Regions from separate parts of the Homo sapiens genome. Here region 1 is linked to region 2. The links are contacts of gene promoters, found by promoter capture Hi-C in human tissues and cell types (Jung and others, 2019). All regions are on one chromosome and are shown on one strand. The core of a region is centred on a gene start or on the middle of the fragment in contact, and the rest is flanking DNA. Distances in the headings are between cores, read along the strand shown.

Evidence for each region. The method cuts DNA at HindIII sites, captures the fragments that hold promoters and counts their contacts. A contact is called where the count stands out against the background at its distance.
Region 1: a contact is called between a fragment that was not itself captured here and the fragment with the promoter of KCNS3 in region 2, in 3 of the 25 tissues and cell types used here (mesendoderm cells, spleen and thymus).

The regions. Positions count from the first base shown.
Region 1 is chr2:18,093,840-18,100,683 of GRCh38, forward strand. No RefSeq gene overlaps it. Among named protein-coding and RNA genes, the nearest start is that of KCNS3, 220 kb to the left of the region's middle. The HindIII fragment of the contact is 6,625 bases long and covers 1-4,700 here.
Region 2 is chr2:17,877,247-17,883,714 of GRCh38, forward strand. KCNS3 (potassium voltage-gated channel modifier subfamily S member 3) reads left to right here and starts at 1,421. Exons shown (of 3, transcript NM_002252.5): 1 at 1,421-1,560. RefSeq lists silencers at 1,032-1,191, 1,202-1,401, 1,492-1,541. The HindIII fragment of the contact is 5,451 bases long and covers 1-3,404 here.

The DNA of each region.
Region 1 (6,844 bases), core at 138-2,637, 220 kb after region 2:
TCTTTCTCCACCTGTCTATATTCTATCTCTATGAAGCCTTCTTTGACGCCTGTGCCCTTCCTGATTTTTCTGACACCCTCTACTCCCAGGTCTTCCCTGACAGCACCGACACTCAACTTACCCTCCTGGCCCCTGGTCACTCATCGCTTCTTTAATGCTCTGACATGCTGCTTTGTCTTCTGTTTACTATTTTTCTCCAGCAAAGGGAAGTTTCTCTGAAAAGGAGTTTTGTGTTTGGTTTTAAGTGCTATGCATCTCTACTTTTGGCTAATGCGTGTACTTTCAGCATTTCCCTAGCACCTGAATTGCATAGTTGGCCTGGTCTTTATTTTGCTGAGTGATCCTGAAGTAAGTGTCCTCAGACACATTCAACTAATATTTGTTCAGCCCAAGTAGACACAAAAAAGGTACAAAGAAAACACTAATCAATAACTTTGCCTTGCTCTGCTGAAAGCTTGCCATTTTGATGCTCTAAAGACTGTGTTCCATCTAATGGCTGAGAGGTGATGCCACAGTCAGAATTGGGTCCATCTGCAGGACTTGCCAGATTAAGACAATGTGGATGACTGGGTTATTACTTATAATAGAAGCTTGGGCAGGAACCAAGTATTTGTGCAAATTCTCAGACTAGCGTTCAAGGCCCTCCCGACACTGCTTTAATGTCTCATTTCCCACTCTCCCATGTGAAGCTTTTGTTTCACTCCCAACAGAATGCTTTGTTTCCTGGGCACACCCTTGACTTTCCTGCTTTCCAGTCTCTGATTTCTTTCTCCCTGGTTATGAGATAAGCAGCTGAGGAAAGATAGATATTACCTTTTCTTTGATTATAAATTGTACTTTCCCCACCCTTCATTTCCATTTATACAATACTACCTATCCTTCAAGTTCATTCTCAGCTAGCAGCGAAAAGTAGCTAACAGTTATTGAGTAGTTACCATGTGCCAGGAGCTATCTTTAGTTTTTGACATGGAATAACTCATTTGATGACTATAAACATGCTACACAATAGGAACTACAATTATCTTCATTTTATAGACAAGGGAACAGAAACAGAGATGCCATCTCCAATTCTACAGGAAACCTCTCCTGATCACTGCTATGTGATGTGATTGCTTCCGTCACTGAGCCTCAGTGGCACATGCTCTTTCCCTCATGTCATTTAGCTTATATGTTCTTTTAGAATAGTTCTGGGTATACTTGTCTGACTCATGCTGCTGGTCTATGCACTCCATAAAAGGGGAAACCATGTCTTAATATCTTTTTTTATTCATCAACTGCTTCTTGCTGAACATAAGCACATAAGAACTGTATCCTGCAAGATTGATTTCTTGGCACTGGAAGCCCTAGGTTGGTAAGAAAGTTTCCAGGACTCAGACCTTGATGCAAAGGAGTACAAAAGTAATTCCAAATAAGTTTTTTGGATGTGATTTCTGGAGGATGGGGGTTTTGGCATGCATTGGCCCAGTACAAGGGCTCTTAAGAACAGACCCAGCCAGCAGCTCAAGTGCTGTAAACTCCCAGAGACCAGAGATCAGGCCTTTGCCATTATTCCTCTTTGATGATGGGGGAGGTTTGGAATAGTTTTTAGAAATTCAGTGGACATGGAACTCATTCAGGAGAATTGGGCTCCTCCCATCTGCTGGGCACTAGGCTTGAGGTATAGATATGTCTTCGTATTATTTTATTTTGTCCCTCCAGTCTAAGTAGGCCAGGAATAATCTGAGTTCTATTCATCTTTTCAGATCAGTTTTCCTCTCTAGGAAGTTTCTTCTTTCCTCATCTCATCTTCTGATCTTATCCGACACTAGCATGTGTGCCATTCACAGGGCATGAAGTGCAGATGACCCTGTGTGACATTTCACTTTCCATGGGTGTGTACCCATGGAAATACATTAAAAGGGAAAACCATGTCCATACATTTTATCTCTTGAACACTGCTAAAAAGTCCCAAAGACCAGAGATGGAACCTTATACATCCTTCAAGTTCCATGTTTGGGTGCATAGCCTAGACAGATAGCTTTGTGGTGGGTCCACTAATCATTCCCCATATGCTTATCGGCATTAGAATAGGTACTATGGGATCAGATGATTGAACAGGTAATCAAGGAAGCCAGGGTTCACCACAAGCATATTGATGACAAAGAGAATTTCATGAAAGGCTTTTGGAGAGTCTAATATTATATATTAATGGACGCTATGAAAATCGTCCATAAATTATAGACAGAGGCTTTAGAAATGTTAATTAACTCACTCAAGTTGCCCAACTAAAAAATTGCAGAGCCAAGGTTTGAACTCGGGTCTTTTGAAACTGTCTTTGCTTTTCATACTTACTATACTTACATCTTAAAGGACTGTGGAACTAACAACCATTCCTAAACTCACTGACAGGGGTAGTTAAGTTGAACATTTCCAGAGCTCTGTACTCTAGTCTTTTTTTTTTTTTTTTTTTTGAGACAGTGTCTTGCTCTGTCGCCCAGGCTGGAGTGCAGTGGCACGATCTCGGCTCACTGCAAGCTCCGCCTCCCGGGTTCACGCCATTCTCCTGCCTCAGCCTCCTGAGCCGCTGGGACTACAGGGGCCGCCACCACGCCCGGCTATTTTTTTTTTTTTTTTTTTTTTTTTGTATTTTTAGTAGAGATGGGGTTTCACCGTGTTAGCCAGGATGGTCTCGATCTCCTGACCTCTTGATCTGCCTGCCTCAGCCTCCCAAAGTGCTGGGATTACAGGCGTGAGCCACCACGCCCGGCCCTGTCTGCTATTCTTAACAGCTCTTTCCACAGAATTTATTTGAGTCAAGTTTCCATTTTCTTCAGTCACTGGCTTTATCAATGTGCAAAGCCATTTAAAATTAATTAAATTGATTCTTATCTGCAAACTGGTGCTGGATAATGCTTTTGTAGTTGCCAAAGGAGCTTTCCCAAAGGCACGTTAATGATATATTAGTTTTCCACTGTCTTTTTCTTTTTGTTGGTTCCATATTCTAGGCCTTCCACTCCCCAGAATAATAAGTGTGGCTGTTATTATTACACGCAAGGTAGCAAAATGTTCCATCCTCCCAGAGAGATAGAATCCCCATTAGGCTATGGTAACAATGGTCCAGGCTTTGCCCTTTGTCTGAGAGCTTCTCTCAGATAATGACGGGAACTTGTTCTTGGATGTGCTGAAGTCATTGTCAGACATTATGGCTATTGAGACACTATCTTCCATAGTGGCTGATGGGAGCCTGGGTTATTGCCATTATGCTAAATGAAAAGGAAATGACAAATCCCGAAAAGTCCATGAACACAATTTTATTTTGTTCCAAAGTGCCTTTGTATCATTATGTGAAATAATGAACCCTATTGTATGCCTTAGCTTAAAACCTTTCTTTGTTGTAAGCATCCTCAGGGGCATTACAGAGCTGTTTTGGTGTTCCTGGACCATGCGTCACTTGTTTAATTTTTTCATCTATAAAATGACACTGGGGCCTTTATGACATGGGGGTAAAAAATATGATGAGAAGATATATCAAAGCATGGTGACTTGAAGACTTTCCTATTCATACCCAAAATACTAGCAAGCCCCAACTTTAAAAGCATTCCTTTGAGGCGTTCTGGAGACACAAACAGTGCAGCAGAGTGCAGCTGGAGATGTACTATATTAGCACAGAGAAGTCATACCTGACTCACATTACCTAGCAAAGGAGTGGAGAAAGAAAGAGAACTTGGGCTTCCCCGCTAGTTAACAGCTACTTCTTTATCATCATGGAGTTAAGCTCATTAAATGAGGGAGCTGTAGATTCCCACTCCAATGTGCTTCCTTATTCTACTAAATCACTGTTGGACTTTCTTGAACCCAACAGTGAAGTGAGCTTTTGCAGAAAAAAGCAGAGGTGGCTTGATGAATTCCTGTCTGAATTCAGAGAGAAGTCCTTCTGGAAGGGTCAGGAGCTGAGCCTAGAAACAGGCAGGCAGCTTCATCCCCACCATCAGCACTTCACTTCAGACAGTTGGCAATTGGCTTGGAATGACCCCCTGACTTTTTTTGTTGGCCTGGCCATGGGGCTGGTGTGCAGTGTAGCCTGGGTATTGGCATATAAAGTATTATTAATTCTAATTCTTCTGTCAGCAATCTGTGAGACTTCCTCAATCTATCCCCTATTGGACTAGGAAATATCCAAGGCCTCTTCCATCACTAAAATGTTGTGATATTTTGACAAGACTATTTTGTGACAGCATGAACGAACTGATCTTCAACATTTTATAACATCTCCTTATTGGTGAACACCATTAAGTTTCCCATCTGCAACATAAAAAATATCAGAGGAAATTCATAAGTTCCTACCCTTCAGTCCTCTCTCCCTCCCTTCTTAGCACCCTCTCCTCTTCCTTGTTTTGTTTTACAAATACTCTTTAGTTTTGATATACCTTTTTTTAGCTAACGCAAACTATAAAATGTAACTTTCTCAAACTTTATTTTTGTTTCTCCTCACTCTTTCTTTCTACTTCACAGAGCACTTGGAACCAGCTGTAAAGGGAGACCCTATAATATCTTTCCATCAAATTCGAAACCCATCTGCATTTGTTCCATCATTCCCACAGCATTCCTGTTACAACAGAAGTGTTTCTTCTACTTCCTAAGATCAATACCTGCACCGCTGTTCTGTAGCCCAAACCCTGACATTTCGGGAAAATCCACCCTTAGATTGTCTCCTATATATCCAGCTTTTCCTTCTTTAGTTGAACGTTTCAACATATCCTTGCTTTTCCCGTTGTAACACAAAACAATAGTCCTTAAGACAACCTTTCCCATGAGCCCACTTTGCCAGTCTGTGAGCACACAATCTCTCTTTTCTCATTCACAGACACTTCCTATAAATAATTACCTACACTCATTGCTCCCATTTTCTTATTCTCACCCTGCATGCCATGCCAATCTGCCTTCCACTCCCACCACTAACCTGAGCCTTCTTTTGCTAAGTTACCATGGACATCTGTACTCTTCGGAGGATAGGTGCCATTGGGAAGTTACTTTTACTAAATCCACATATTGACTTGGATTTTTATGCACCAATTTCTGCCTTTCTTTTACAGTGGAAGAGGTGATCTTGATTCTATTTAAGACCTCCTCACTCAAGCCCTGGGTTCCATCACCTCTTTGAATATATAACTCTTGGAATTATCTCCTCTTCACTGGACCATTTCCATTTGCATAACCTTCATGCATTAAAAATGAGCCCTCTTAAGCCTGAAAAACCTTAACCTTTTATATATCAAAACTACTCCAAAGAGTTCTCTATGCTCACTCTTCCCATTTTCTTTCTCCCTAGTATACTCTCAATTCTCTTCATTCATGCTTTTTATTCCTACCATTTCATTAAAATTGTACTTTTCAAGGTCATGAATGACCTGCGTCTTGCCAAAGCTAAAGCCAAGTGTGAATGCTACACTGTTCTCATTTTCCTCTAACTTAGCAGCAGTGGAGTGAACTGAACACTTGCTCTTTCTCCAGGCTTTTGTGATGACATATTTTCCTGGTTTTTCTTTACATCATTGGTCTTCCTTCTTGTCCTTTACTACTACCTCTTTATCTGACTCTTTCTCTCTGCATTAATTCTACTCTCATCCAGTCTCGTGAAAATAAACAATATCAATAAGATAAAAACAGTCAAATTTATATACACAAATGTGAGCTACAAGTCATACTCAGCTACACATTTGACTTAGATGTTTAACAAGATATCTTAAACTTAATAAGCGCAAAACTTATTTCTTGATCCACTCTCTCCCTCTTCTTCTGGTTATCCTCTGTCTTCATCAAAACAAATGATCCCACCATCTACTCAGTTGCTCCACCCTTATATCTACGAGTTATCCTTGATTCTTCTCTTTCCTTCTTATCCCACTGTATTACTTTGTTTTCTGTTGTTTATAGCAGAATACCTGAAACTGGGAAATTTATAAAGAAAAGGAATTTATTTCTACAGTTACAGAGGCTGAAAAGTTCAAGGTTGAGGAGTTGCATTTGGTGAGAGCCTCCTTGCTAGTAGGGGCTCTACCGAGTACTGAGGCAGTGCAGGGTATCACATGGTGAGGGGCTGAACGTGCTCACATGCTAGCTCAAGTCTCTCTTCTTTTTCTTATAAAGCAAACAGTTCCACTGTCATGATAACCCATTAATCCATTAACCATGAATAAATAAATTTATTCATCAGAGCCCTCACAATCCAGTCACTTCTTAAAAGCCCCACCTCTCAATAATGCCAGGTTGGGGATTAAGTTTCAATATGAGTTTCGGAGGGGACCTTCAAATCATAGGACCCAAGTTCAATCCATTAGTATTTAATTAGATATGTATTTCAAATTTGATAATTTCTTACCATTTCCATTGTTACAGCTTCTTTCCAAAAGCACAAAAGTCCCCAACTAGACTACTATACGAGCATCCTGATGCTGTTTCTGCTTCTGCTCTTGCCCTATATTATACATTCTTCATATATCATCTGGTGATCTTTTTAAATATAATTTTTAACATTATTTTTCTGCTTAAACTATTACAAAAGTTTCACTTTGCAGTGTAAATAAAATGTAAATTCCTTAATTTTGCCTCTCACAGTTTATTTGCATTTTATTCACAGGAACAGGTGATCTTTGTCTGCCCTTGGGTGCAAACTCCACAAATCCCATGGTTTTCTCCTGACTTGTGGTGGAAGTCACTGCAGTCACGCTCAGTCTTCATTCAGACATTGGATTGCCCAGGCCTATGTAATTATGAAAATTTAACATGACTTGATGTTCACTCTTCTCCCTTCTCCTACCTAGGACTTGCTTCAAGTCTGCAACCTGCATCAAGGAAGTGGCATTCG
Region 2 (6,468 bases), core at 171-2,670:
GCTTCCCAGAAGCCAAATGAAACTGTTGGAGCTTGGTGGGCTCCAGGCCTCAGGGGGAAGACCACCCTAGGCTTTATCTTTTCCTCTGCCCTTCCTGCCTGCTGTTAGCCTCTCCTCTGGACCAAAACTCCCTTTAAGGGGAAAACCTCCTCTTTGAAGCCCACAAGATACGGTGAGGATTACTGCCTTTTTCTGATTTCCAACGTGGGTTTTTCATTAAGCAAAGAACAATTAGAAAACCCACACATAACATAGGGTATTCAGTAAGTTCAGGAAAGTGTTTTCCACCATCTCTTTGCCCCCATTCCCTCCCCAGCGCTTGGCTCAAGGTCTGGAGCTTGAATCTGCATCGTCTTCCTAGGTGCTTGCCTGAGGTGAGTGGTCAGCGGGTGCTGGCTTGGGGGCAGCTGGCAGGGCGTATGCTGCGGGTAGGAACCCAGGGAACACTGGGCGCCTTAGCTTGGAGCAGCTGGCTCCGAGGAATTGTTCCACGTCTGCACAACTTAAAAATCTGCAGTTTGGGGGCGGGAGGGGGAGCGCGGGGGTGGGTCCCGAAGCGTCCCATTTCTCCTCCTGGCTGTTAACTGAGCGCTCTCGCTCAGTGCAGCGAGGCCAGCGATGCCTTCTGGACCACACGCTGTCCTCGCCGAGGTCCTGGTTTGTTCCTCAACGTCGGCTGAAGGCATCGTCCCCTGACTTCCTCTTCCATTCGTCCTTCCGAAAGGGGACCCGACTGGTTCCTCTTCTACATATGAGGCGCATCTGCTTGGTGCAAATGTCCAAGCACCTCTTCTGACTCGGTGAGTGGAGGAATAAGACAAAGCATCTTGTTCTGCACTGTGCCTGAGTCTTCAGGCAGCGGGACCGATGGCAAACATTGGCAGGAACTGGAGCTATATGTACTCTCCTTCGCACTTTGTTTTAAAACAAGTTTGGGCCTCGCGATTTCCTGAGGAAATCCAGGCAAATTAGCAAAGTGTCGCTTGGGCCGCGACTTTAGAAAGGCGGTTGCCCCAGCCGCCGGGGCCGCGGGGGAGGTCATCTTTTTCCCGCAGGGCCACGGCGCTTCCGGCCCAGGAGGGCGCGCAGGTGGGAGGCGCGGGGCGCGCTCCTGGTCCCACCCGGACAGCGCCTGCCGCTCCGGGGTGACTCTGCACTTGGGCCTGGGCGGGGGCGCGCGGCCGGCAGGGCAGCATCTAGGTCTATGGGTCTGTCCGCCTGTCTGGCGGTCGGAGCCCCGCAGTCCTCAGCCGCCCGCGCCCTCGGCCCGGGGCGCCCGGCTGCGGGCCCGAAGCGAGGGGCTGGCGGAGCTGCGACCAATGGGGCGGCGGCCGAGCGGCGGGCCCCGCCCCGTCCCGTCCGGCCCCGCCCCGCCCGCAGCTCCCGGGAGCCTCGCTCTAGCGGGGCGGGACCGACGGACAGACCGGCCGACGCGGGCCACCCCGCTCTCCTCGCCGCCGCGGCGGCAGGCGCGGGGCCGCGCCGCGAGGCCTGATCCCTGCAGCGCGGGCAGGCGGCGTCGCAGAGCGGAGCTAGCTGGATGCGTCCGGACTCCTGCAGGTACCTGGCTGGCGTCCCCACCTCCCTGCGCGCTCCGGAGACTTCTCCGGGCGACCCTGCAACTTTACCGCGCCTTCCCCCACCTTTTGCTGCCCCAGTCTCCTGTGGTCCAGGTCGCGGGTGCACGACCCCGAGGGTCTACGGCCGCAGAGCACTTTCCGTCCTTCTGGGCGTCTGGCCCGCGGCGCCCGCATCCTCTGGTCCCCAGAGCCCGCCGTCGCTGGAGCCCTAAGGCTCCGCCTGTTGCGTGAACTGCGGGCTGTTGAAGCGGTGGCTGGGTTGATTTGAAAGCCTCGGGGAAGGTATTTAGGATCAGCTTTCGGGGAGTGGGGTGGGCTATGGTCAGGGGGAGGACCACCTGGAGGCGGGAGAATCGATGAGCCGAAGAAAGGCGGCACCTCGCGTAGGGGCATCCCCGGGGCGTTTCCTTGGCCGGGAAGCCGTTCCTTCCCTTCCTCGAGAGGAGGCGCTTTCCTGGCGCTTGTAAATGCTTCCCGGGCCGTCTGCTCCGCCTTCTTTGTCATTCCTCCCCTCCCCTTTGCCCTGCAGCTGTGCTAGGCGCCCCGCGACAGTTGCAGGGAAGAGCGAACCCAGGGCCCTTGCTCTCGTGCAGCGCTGCGCCCTGGGTGGGGACGGCGTGAGGCTTGCAGCGCAGGTGTGGAGTCACTTGCGGACTCTGCGTTTGGATCAGTGGCAGTGGTGGGGAAGGGTCACCCCGGGGTCAGGAACTCCTCTTTTTTTTTTCGCGCCTTTCTGGGTGGCTGCCCGACCTCCTGAGGCACCTTGGCTAGCAAGCGAGCCAGTCTTGCCGGCAGGGGCCGCGGCGAGCCTGGCTGGGCGCCTTTCGCATTGCAGGGCTTGTCCTGCACCCCCAACCCCGCTCTGTCCCTTCTCGTTCATTTGGAGAAAGGAGCACCTTTTGCATTCTTGATGTCTCCCCCCGGTTTTGTCTGGGGAGACCGAGCCGAAAGCTTCACTCGGGTGGCCCGCAGCAGGGGCAGAGGACAGCAAAGAGCTACCTCCACCTGCCAAAATGACCCAGGGGCCCTGGTTTGGTGCCAAGGCGTGAAGTGGGGGGAGGGGCGGTAGGTGTTCCTTACGTTCCTGCCGGAGAGTAGCTTTGTGGTTGGCCCGGAGCCTTCGTTCGGGTTTTTTGTCTTTCACCCTACCCTCTGAAAATACTGGAGCAGATGAGTACAAACAGTTCAGAAGCCTTTCCTGTTTCTTTCCCTGTATTTACTCAAGCGATTTGCGTAACCATTCACTTGGAACTGTGTAAGTCACTCCTAGTTGCCCCCCTTCTTAGACTATTTGCAAATACCTGCCCAGGTAAACAGGAAGCACGCACCTATCTCTTAGCTGAAGGCATATGCCCTCGTGCTTTGTCTTCCCTGCATATCTGGAGCCGAAGAGGTGGCTTTGATTCTCTAGCTGAACTTGGTGTAATGTGCAGGCTCCACTTCTTACCTGGGTGGTGACCTTCTTGAGGAGATTGACTCGTTCAGTATGCATTTCCAACCAGCCCGCCATGGGCCAGGCCCCAGGATGCACTCGGGGACAGACAGCAAATGGATGATATAATTTCTGCACCCAGTCTAGTCTGTTCTTTCTTTCTCACCAGCTTCCCTTCTTCTCTTGTTCTAATATTATGTTTGTCGTTTCTGAACTAGGAATTGTCAATATTGGGATCCGGAGAAGGTCATATGAAGGTGCCATAGAACTCTGAATCCAAAGCATGTTGTGAATATACTAAGGAGACTTGCGGGATCAGTATTAATTGAATCTTTTGTCTGACCCATAATTGCCTGAATAGAGCCATTGATGAATGCAGCTACGCTAAGGTTTTGCTGGTCAAGTGTATGAGGGCAAATTGGGAGGTCAGAAGCAGTCTTTGTTCTGTTCTGAAATATTATAATATTAAAAATCCAAAGCTCTGGAGCTTGAGTTTGCCAGCAAAGCACCAACTGAGTATCATCATCTTCTTTTAAGAAGGAAGGGGGAGAGTGGGAACTGCAGCTCCCTCCTGTCTTCAGTGGGTTTTGCCCTTCACTGTAATTCTTCACAGACGTGCATCCCTCTGTTCTACCACCCATCTCAATCTGCCCTGTGTCTGGCATTTGCCATTGGAATGTGTGTCAGCTTTGAGAGAGTAGGCACCACAGGGTTTTCCTCCTCCTTTTCCTTCTATTTTTTAATAGATAACATTTATTAGCTGCATACTATATATCAGATACTCTGCTAGGCACTTTTCCAGGCATTATCTCATTTAATTCCCATAACAACTGCATGAGGATGTGATGCTTGCTTTCTTCACTGCAGTATTGCTGTGGGAGCCAGCAGTAGATGGAACCCCCCAGGTGCATGTTGAGTCAGATGGGAGGCCAGTGGGAAATGGTGGGCCTGAGGTCTCACTAGGAGGAAGGACGACTCTGCAGGGTATGTTGAAGCAGAGAAGGTGGGTGTGTTTATTGACTCTGCTTATCAGGTGTCAGGAAAGTGCATCTTCCAGAGTGCCACCTGTGTGAAATACCCACAAAGAAACATCATAGAGAAGAGAATAGGATGTGGGGACCCAGTTTCCAGCTGTGATATCTATTTCTTTATGGCTCCTTGACTTGACATGTCATTTTGCTAATCTGGGTCTTGGTCTGTTTAGCTGCACTGACCTAGATCTCTAATATTTGTTGTTACGCTGTACTAGGCACTAAAAGCTAAAAGCTTTTACATGTATGAACTCACTTCATCCTGATGACAATCTTAGGATGGTAGGTTCTATTATCACCGTATTTTACAGGAGGAAAGAGAGACAAACTGAGTAACTTGTACAAGGTCACCCAGCCCGGAAAAGGTGAAGCTAGGATTCTATCCCTTGCAGTCTGACTGCAGAGCCACTGTGAGATTCAGTTTTCCTCATTTATTCCTACAGTTCCAACACTGTTCCCTGTGCTTAGTGGGATCTCGGACTACATTTGTTGAACAGTGACAGAGGGGGCTTACAGTTACCAAGTGACTTTTGGGTCCCATGTCTCAGCCTTAAAAGGAATCTCAAAGACTGCGTTAGCAAAATATTATTTTTGCCTTTGACAAAATGGTCTGCTTTTCGGTGAAATTCTGCCCAGCTGGTTAGGAAAAAAGGAAGATAAACCATAAAGATCATGGGCCAGGGAAACATTATGGTGAGTTTCAGAAAATGTGTTTATCAATATAAGAAATTCAGAAAAACCACAGAACACTTTGTACTCCGACGCAAATTTGTCAAGTAAATCAACCAGTGACCAATTCACAAGTGCTTATTGTATGGGTGCTAAGTGCCCAGTACTACAGGCAATGAAGGTAGGCAGAATCTATGACATGGTCTCTGAGCTTGAACTTATAGTGGATCTGGAGACTCCAGATCAGTGAGACAAGATAGAACAATACAAGATGCTAAATGTTTAAGTCCTGATAAAAATCACAATGACTCGGTCACATTTGTATAACCTATTGTGGTTTGTAGGAACTTTCACATGGGATATCTCATTCCAGTCCTCAGAGCAACTGAGAGTTATAAGCTATAGGTGGGACAGAAGTTAGGAAGCCCATATTGCTGATGAAGAAATTAAGGCAAACTGAGCCTTGAACTTGGACACAGTCAGGGGTCTTCTGACTTTAAGTCCAGCATCTTTCTGCCTCACTTCTCTCTGGAGCTAGAGAGCAGAACAGGAGGGAGTGAGCTATCGAGAGTCCTTGGGGAGTGGGGAACTGAGTTTGAATTTCATCCTGGACCTGGCCTTTGCTTGCTGGTCTTGACTACTGTGGGTGCTTATTGGAGGCAGGGGATGGGGAGTAAGTACAAGCTGGGGAGGAGGAGAAAGAGGAGAAGAGTGTTGTTGTTTTATTGTTTCAGGGGCCTGCTGTTTTGTGAAGCCTGGAGTGAATACTCAATTATCATGAACATAATAACAAGGCTTAAAATGTACAACAAAATGTAGAAACTGATTTAGAATTTTCATCCCTGTTTTTCTTTATCATTTCTCTAGATCATCTTTTGAAACTTTTTAGCATATCTGCACATTATACTTTTTTTTCACAGTTGTTAAGAGGATCAAAATCTACACATTATAAAAGTAAACTCTTTAATAAGCTAAAATAGTTACTAGGCTAGGTTGTGGTATTTTTCTTGTGGGCAAGAGGTCTCATTCTCTTTGGAATCCTGCACAGCCTTGCACTACGATTTGCTTTGAGGAGATACTGTATAAATATTGTCTTCAGTTGCACAAGTATTGAACGATAAAGGCATAAGATCTGCTTTTAGCCAATAATGTTACAGTTAAGCAGTTAATGTTGGCAGCAGCCAGCCTCAGTGAGTTTGGTGAAGTGCCAAATGAATGAAGTATCTTGCTGAGTATTCTACTAATCAGCCATCCGAGGACTTACCAGATGCTCACCAAAGGTGACATAATGATTAACTTATATAGTCACATATATGTATTCTCATTATATATTCAAATCCGTGCATACATTCATTCAACAAGTATTTGAGTACTTACATGATGTTATGTACTATGCTAGGTGCTGGGTATACTGTGGTAAAGGAAACGGTGGGGGGTTGGGGTGGGGTGGGGTGGGGTGAGAAGTGGGAGGGAGACAGGCATTAAACAAACCAATGCAAAATTTAAGTAGTGGTAAGTTCTCTAAAGGACTTCATGGGAGAGAGTAACAAGGGTAGGGAGGCACTAGTTTAGATGAGAGGGTCAGAGAAGACCTTTCTGAGGAAGAGACATTTCATTTTGAGTGATAAAAGGAGTCCATTAAGTGAAGAGTGGGAGAAAGATAATTCCAGGCTGAGGATTCTAAGGCAGGAATGAGCATTGAGCCTCTTTTTGTTCTATGCAGGAACTTCAAGAGAACAAGGGTGGGAACAGCTGG